2 separate regions of the Homo sapiens genome follow, and region 2 is linked to region 1. The links are contacts of gene promoters, found by promoter capture Hi-C in human tissues and cell types (Jung and others, 2019). All regions are on one chromosome and are shown on one strand. Each heading gives the region's core, a stretch centred on a gene start or on the middle of the fragment in contact. The rest is flanking DNA. Distances are from core to core; before and after follow the strand shown. Region 1 holds the start of SCAF11 (SR-related CTD associated factor 11). Region 2 has its middle 150 kb from the start of SLC38A4.

Region 1 (3,881 bases), core at 619-3,118:
GCATGAGTATACTTACAGTAAGCAAACATTCAAATTTTACCCCAGTGAAATCTTAAAATGTACTCAAACTCTCAGGCAAAAAGTTCACTATCTGAATGTGAAAAACTGAATGACTGTTAAAATATCTGCAAGCACCAAAAAATATTATAGCTAAAATGCAGCTACCCTAAGAACTGTTTTTAAAAAACTCACATTGCATAAAAAATATAAATTCAGATTATCCGATAGGATAATATAAAACAAAAGAAATCCAAAGACAGTTTCAAGATTTCATTTCTCTTGCTTAGTTAAAACAACAAAAACAAAAGGCCCATGAACTTTTTCTTGCATCTTTTAACCAAAATAGTGACATGATCAAGCCAACTGCCAAAGAAACAGGAAAGAGAAAGCAATTGTTTAGAAACAGACTTGATTACATGTCAAAATTTTAATACAATTACTAATAAAATACAAAAACCAACCGTTATTTTAAAATGTACTGCCCTGATATTCTGCTGCTGAGGTAGGTGGTGATATGTAGAAATTAATTTTTCTTTTAAAACGAAAAAATAATGCATTTATTAATATGCTTTTCCCAAAATTCGGGGAAAATTCCCAAATCGGAGAAAAAAATTTAACATCAGCATCTACTACACAAAGCATTAAAAACATTTTTCAGCAGTTTTGCTTAAGTATCTTAGGTCAGTGGTAGCATGTTAGCCAAAATGTAATCCAAAATGAATGAACAACAGTCAGCTGGTAGACACTGTATGTAATACAATACGGAAATATATTGGAAGTATTTCAAAATTCAACATTTGAATCCGTGAATGTCTAAATCAAGTACTCTAAATCAGGCGTCTACTTTTGAAACAATACTTCAAAATACGTGTTGGTGGCAAGACCGCCAGCCATCTGTAGGAAATCTTTTTAATGGTTCAAAATTCCTAGGTCTCAGAAGGGGCGACTGATTAGGCTAAATTTATATCTCCCGGCCCCGTAGTTGTCAGCCCAGGTAGCGAATTTAAAACACTGGGGGTGGATGAGTAGTTTGAAGTTCAGATCAAGGAGTGAAAAAGGCTGATGCTTAGAAGCGCCGGCTCTTCCCCATTCGCGCACTCGAGAGGTCACGGCGTAGTAAAGTTTGGTTTCACTAGCGGGCTTGGACGCTCGCGACCAAAGTCTCCCAAGAAAAGCCGACACCGCGGTCGGGAGCGCCCGGAAGCTCAGCAGGACACGTTTCCACTGCAGGGAGGAGGGTGTCTGTGGCGGTTCTGGCGTGGAGCCCCTTCCCCCCCCCCCGTAGGACCCTGCACCCGGACGGGGACAGGCTTCGCCAGCTAAGGCGGCGGGAGACGCGTAGGCCACAAGGAGGAAATGGGACAGAGTGCGACAGAGAGGCGGCGGCGGCCCAGGGCCGGGCCGAGCCTCCCTCGCGGGGCAGCGAGAGGGAAAGGGGCCCTCCCGGCCGCAGCCTCCCCCACTTCGAGAGGTAGCTCCAACTTTCCTCCCAGCGCACGACGTCGCACGGGCCGCGCGAGATTCCGAAACTTTGTCAGCCCTCGCGTCGCCCTAGGCCCGCTCCAGCGCTCTGCGCCGGCCGCTAACCCTCGTCTCTCCCAGACAGCTGCCCAAGCCCATCCACCCCGCGGGTCGACCAGTGTTTACCTCAGACCGAGGTCGAGGCGCTCGGTCCGGCCGCGGCCCCACAGTAGGTTCCCAGGTCCCAGTCACTCCGCTGCCAAGTTCCCCAACATGGACTCCTTCGTCCGCTTTGTGGTGTTACAGGGTCTCTAGGACACTGACTCCGCTGGCTCGGTCCGGAGGCGGCGGCGAAGCAGGGAGCGACCCAGGTTGCGCTGCTCCGCGCGGCTTAAGCCACCGCTACTCCCCCTTCCCCCGCCTTGTCTAGCCTCCTCCCTCCCCTCCCCTCCCTGCGCGTCTCCCTCCTCCTCCCTTCCCTCGCTGTCGGCGCGCTAAGGTGACGACGGCGGCAGCCGGACTCGCCACATTCTGCTTACTCGCTCGCTCTGGCCCTGAGTGCATGTTCGTAGTACCCAGTTGGGCCGCAGGGGGGCGCTGGCAAACTGCTGTTTGAGACCGAGAAGCGTGGTGGGTGGAGTCACGTCACGCGGCCTGTGAGCGGGAGGAAGGGCAGCTGCGCTGGAGGGGCCTTCTGGGAAACGTCCTTCCAGCACCGCCCTTCGCCCACACTGCGGATGGTGCGCATGCGCAGCGCGTGGACTTTGGCCTCTGCCCTCCTTTGGCAGTTTTACAGGCTGCGTCGCGGAGGACAATGAAAGAGGCTTTAAGGGAACTGGACAGGAAGGATTTTGCGCAGGGTGTGCTCCTTATCTTTATGGTAATCTGATATTGAAAAGAGTGTCCGCATGTTTGCGGTGGATTGAGTGTTCACCTGGCTGCGCTGCCCACCTGAAATGCAGCCTGTGGAGTGAAGAGTCGGCAATTTGGAAGCCCACCTTTCCTCCTTTCTGGTGGGCATTTTTTTAGATGCCAGGGGGAGAGCTTTCCCGCCTGACTCCCCGAGCCTAGGGGCTTTCCCATGTCTTAACCCCACATCACAAAATTAAATTTGGGCCAGGTGCGCGGTGGCTCACGCCGGTAATCCCAGCGCTTTGGGAGGCCGAGGCTGGCGGATCGCTTGAGCTCAGCAGTTCGAGACCAGCTTGAGCGACGTATTAAGATCTCGTTTCTACAAAAAATAAAATTAACCGGCCGTGGTGGCGCGCACCTGCGGTCCCAGCTCCTCGGGAAGATGAGGTGGGAGAATCGCTTGAACCCGGGAGGCGGAGGTTGCAGTGAGCCGAGATCGTTCCACTGCACTCCAGCCTGGGCGACAGAGCGAGACCCTGTCTCAAACAACAACAAAAACTTTATCATTATTTACTTAAAAGGCCTCCGCGTTGTGGTTAGATAGTGACGTGTGTGCCATCCTCCACTTTTTCCCCCGGCGGGTTGTTAAATGTTTTGTTTTACCTCGGAGGTATTTTGACTTTTTCAAAGTCACTGATTATTTAACCTCCTAGTTTCTCTTCTCGTCGACTGCAGCAAGCTTCCGGTTGCTCTGCCTGCCCTCAGTGTCCCCCATCTACCAGCTGACCTTCCAGTCCTCCCACCCACGCCCTTGTCCTGCTTGCGGCTCCCGCAGGACTAAGCTCTGCTCCCCGCGCGCGGCTCACCCAGGTCCCAGTCGCTTTCAGCCGCGCGCTCACACGTTTTCCTGTCGCCTGCCCCCGTTCTGTTCGCGCGTGCTGCGCTCTCCAGCCACCCTGACGCCTGCCCGGGATGAGTTTCCTCCCCACTTTGCCGCGGCCCCGCCGACCGACCGCTTCACTGCCGCCTTCCTGCATTCTCGCAGACTACGTTGCGGCGTCCCCTGCTCCCGCCCTGAGGACGTCGCTTTTCTGGCACTTTCATCCTATGCATTCTGTTGAGTCTGCTCACTGTCTCACACTGTGAGGATTGGGACAGTGTCTTATCACTTTCATAACAGCGTCTGGCACTTGCTGAAGGAACACATGAATGGCGGTCTTGTCGCTGTCAAAGTCTTTGGAGTTTTTCAGTGTACTGTTTTTGATATGGGGTTTGGGAATTTAGGTGGCTTTACTGTATTTGGGATATTTGAGGGGAAAATGAGCTAGAGGCGTTAAAATGCTTTCTTCTGATGGAACAACAAAATTCTTATGAAGGACCTTTCCCTGTCAAAATCAGAGCAAATAGTAAAGGATATATACTATTTGGATATAAAGAATGATTATAAAGGATGATTGTTAAGAGAAATAGTGAAAATTAGTGTGGAAAGCTATAACCAGATCAACATTTATGAGCCATCCAACAGAATAAGGGTGTAGCTTTTTTATGTATACAATCTCTAGGATTCA
Region 2 (3,756 bases), core at 985-3,484, 690 kb after region 1:
CCTGGGCGTGCCTGCCAAGCTTTGTAATGGCTTGCAGAAGCCTGTTTCTAGGAGGCTGAGGAGGTTCCTGGGAGAGAGGCAAAGAAGATAGATCCAGTCACAAATGGTAGATTGGTCTGAATAAGGACTAACTTTTTGATTTAAGATGAGAAACTAGAAGAAGGTACAATGAGTGGGCTTTTACACAGAAAGCATTGAGTGAGAGGGTACAAGCGAAAACCAAGCAAATTAGATGATGTCGCCTCTAGCGACTCAGCAAGAGCAACAGTAGCTGCCCAGTCCTGATACTTCCATCTGTCCTGGAAAATAGCCATTGGGTCCCCTCTGTTCAGGAGCCAGGCATTTGTAGGCTGGGCCACCCTGGCCCGAGGAACCTGCCAGGACTTGAAATCTATAGAAACAAAAGGCAGTTGTTTTTATACATTAAACACAATATCCAAGTCAATAATTGCTGGTTTAAAGTCTAGTGCCCCAATCAGCTGTATATTTAAGGATATTCATACAACAAATTTAGGTGACAGTTTGGTGACCCAAAGAAAGGTTTTGTTACCACATTCCAAAGGGGCCTTTTTCCAGAGGCTCTATTGAGACCAAAGGGAGAGGCAGTTTTTGTGATCTCACTGAGTGTATTGCTGCGATTTATCTCCAAGCCCAGCCCCCACAACATGAATACTTCAATACTGTTGTGAGGAGAGAACAAAGTAAAGACTGGAAGGGCTATTTCTCTAAATTTAAGACATTAGTGCAGTGGCAGCTTGGCCTGAATAGTTCTTTAACAGATTATGACCCCAAAGGAGGCAAGGCGATTACCCACCTCTTTTCCAAGAAAACACTGTAAAGTGCAGCTATCTCCTCTCTGGTGGGAGAGAGAAGTACCCATGGAGCATGGTGTTGGCTGGAAGATGCACTGGTAGAAAAGACAGGAGAGAGTGGCAGTAGCAGACACCAGGAGTGGATTTGTTACTAAGTATAGGTGAGCCATCTACTGGAGGATCCCCAGAAATATTTGTAGGGTGGTGGGGATTTTGTAGGAGCCTGAAACTTCTACATTAGCAGTTGAGTCTATGAAACATGAATTACAACTGCGTCTTAACACCAGACATGTGTATAAACTGGGAAGATAGGTTAATTCTGGTGCTTACAGTCAGTGAAGATGAATTAGCATTCAGAGCGCTTGAGGTTCCTCTTGATGTCTTTGACAAAAACTGCTTGGATCATACTTGAACTGAGACATTATAATGCAGAGGTGTTTTTTTGGGGGATTACTAATTGTCTATTATATTTTCAGCACTACCTGGATGCTATAGAGGATGCAAGAGAAATATGACTATTCCTGTCCTTAGGGTGTCATGGTCTAGTGGGGGAGATAACACAAGTACACAGGCAACTTAGAAACAAAGTAAAAGTGGGAGTTAGGAAGATGCAGATATTTGGTTCATTCTCATAACTGTAATTGCAGTTAGCCCAAGTTGGTGGACCTAAGCTGAATAATTTCCCTGGGCTAACCAGAAATTTTAAAAACCACAGCAGATATACAGCTCTCATTTAATCCATCTTCTAAATTCCTTCTTTCTTTACTTGGATTTTATGCTTAACTGTTACTCTGCGTAATCACTGTACAAGTTAAGACTTGCTGAGCTTAGTACTACTGTTGCTTACATTGACTCAGCTTCGCATTTACATGGCCAGTGCTTCAACATTTCTTTATGAGTATGCCAACTTCCTGATTTCACTGCCTTCTGAATCCTTTTGTTGGATAAATTAAATTTATAAACAATAACTTTTATATTATATACCATCGAATCTAAGAAACCATAGATAGTAAAATGTACCATTATTTTATGTACCACTAAGAAAAAAACCTGTCACTATACTTCCATATCACTTAGAATTTTAAATTGATACTTATTAAAGGAGATCTCTAAGGCTTACTTATACAGAGAATTTTATCATATATCCTCCTTATGCATAATAAAAAGAAACATATAAGCAAAATAAATTGCTTAAGATATTCCTAAAACTTCACATTCAGAGTCTAACTCTTCCAAGTCACTTTTTAACCAAGAGTTGTTGGTGCTTTTCCACATAATACCTCCTCCGTGCATCAGAAATATTGGTTATGTATCATTACTTCTTTTAAAACTTTTTATTGAAGAAAGAGTGCATATTACATGAATGTACAGCTGAACCAGTTATCTCAAGGTAAACATCCATTAAACCACAACCCAGTCAAGAAAGACAACATCATGAAACATCCAAGGAGCCCCCTTTGCTTCCTCTCAGGCACTATCATTGTTCCTCTACTGCCACTGCCATTAGTATGTCATCACAGATTAATATATAGAATAGATTGCTTCTTTGTGGCATTTATATAAATGGAATCATTCAGTATGCATTCCTTTGTGTCTGACATTTTTTGCTTAACATTAGGTTATGAGCTGTATTCTTGTTGTATGTAGCTTGGTTCATTCATTCTTATTGCTATAAAAGACTTTATTATACGAATATACATAATTTTATTTCTCCATTTTCCAGGTGATAGAGAATTGAGTTGTTTCCGTTTTATTTTGTTACAGATAATTCCACAATGAACAATCTTTTGCACGTCTCTTTGTAGTGTAGTGTGTGTATATATGCACACATATATAGGTATTATTCAAGAGTGGAAATCCTGTGTATTTTCAGCTTTAGTAAATAATGCCAACAGTTTTGCAAAGTGGTTAATAATGCCAACAGTTTTCCAAAGGGGTTGTGTCGATTTCCTGTTACAAGAGAGTATCAATTTAATTAAACGATCAGAATTCCTTCAAGTGTGTTATATCAAACGTCAATGTCCTGTGAAAACAATCTTGTTATTATTGTTTGACTATTTGGATTTAAATAGACATCTAGGTACCTGTTAAAAGAATGCTAAAAGTGTGAAATATGAGAATGGCCAGTAACTATTTTTAATTGATGACATATTCAGCTTGGGTTGATGGGTAACTGATCTACTGATGTTCTTATACTAATATAAAAATAATGAGTAGGAATGGGTCAGGTGTACACACACACACAGGATGGTATACAAGAAATAGCTTGAAGTTAAAGAGGATGAAAAGGATTAAAAGAAGCCTGATCTCTGGCTTTTAGCCGTAGGAAGTAAAATCCAAAGATGGCAAATTTGTTAATTTTCCTCTTTAGATGTATTTTATACACATAGTGTTTTGCCTACTGAATCAAAATCTTAGGTCATTTCACTTTTGTATTGACTAACATTGAAGCACAATCTAAAGACATCTCTGTGGCAATAGTAACTACTCCCAAAGCAATGTGTGTGCTGAGGAATGGGGCTGTGGGAGCCTCAGAGGAGGAACTGGAACAATAGAAATAATGTCTAGAGCTGTCATTCTCTAAGGTGACCCTTCTGCATGGTGGAAAATAATTTGCAAAATGATGGTTTAAGAGACGGCAGCAGTGCTTATCAGTATGTCTTTATTTGACACTGAGGGGAGGAACTTGCTTTTGCCAACTGAGTAGTTGCCAGTGATTTTTATTTTAAGTGTATTATATTTGCAGGTACTCTCTTTTCTTCCCCACCCTGCTCATAATTTTGAAATGCTTTTGGTCCTTTGGGTGAGATTAGTGAAGAAACATTCACAAGAGATCTGGGCATTTGAAGGAGGAAGGCAGCTGAACCTGCAGGATGATCCATTAACAACTGGAAAAATAGCCACCATCCAGGACAGAGAGGATGTTACAGGAATAATAGGCATC

The links. The method cuts DNA at HindIII sites, captures the fragments that hold promoters and counts their contacts. A contact is called where the count stands out against the background at its distance.
Region 2: a fragment that was not itself captured here is called in contact with the fragment with the promoter of SCAF11 in region 1 in 1 of the 25 tissues and cell types used here (lymphoblastoid cells).

Annotation. Positions count from the first base shown.
Region 1 is chr12:45,988,706-45,992,586 of GRCh38, forward strand. It overlaps SCAF11 (SR-related CTD associated factor 11), which reads right to left and starts at 1,869. Exons shown (of 15, transcript NM_004719.3): 1 at 1,648-1,869. RefSeq lists silencers at 943-1,012, 1,413-1,512, 1,853-1,902 and enhancers at 1,163-1,212, 1,573-1,782, 1,591-2,304, 2,023-2,222, 2,233-2,302 and 1 more. The HindIII fragment of the contact is 22,524 bases long and covers 1-3,881 here.
Region 2 is chr12:46,676,994-46,680,749 of GRCh38, forward strand. No RefSeq gene overlaps it. Among named protein-coding and RNA genes, the nearest start is that of SLC38A4, 150 kb to the right of the region's middle. The HindIII fragment of the contact is 4,963 bases long and covers 1-3,756 here.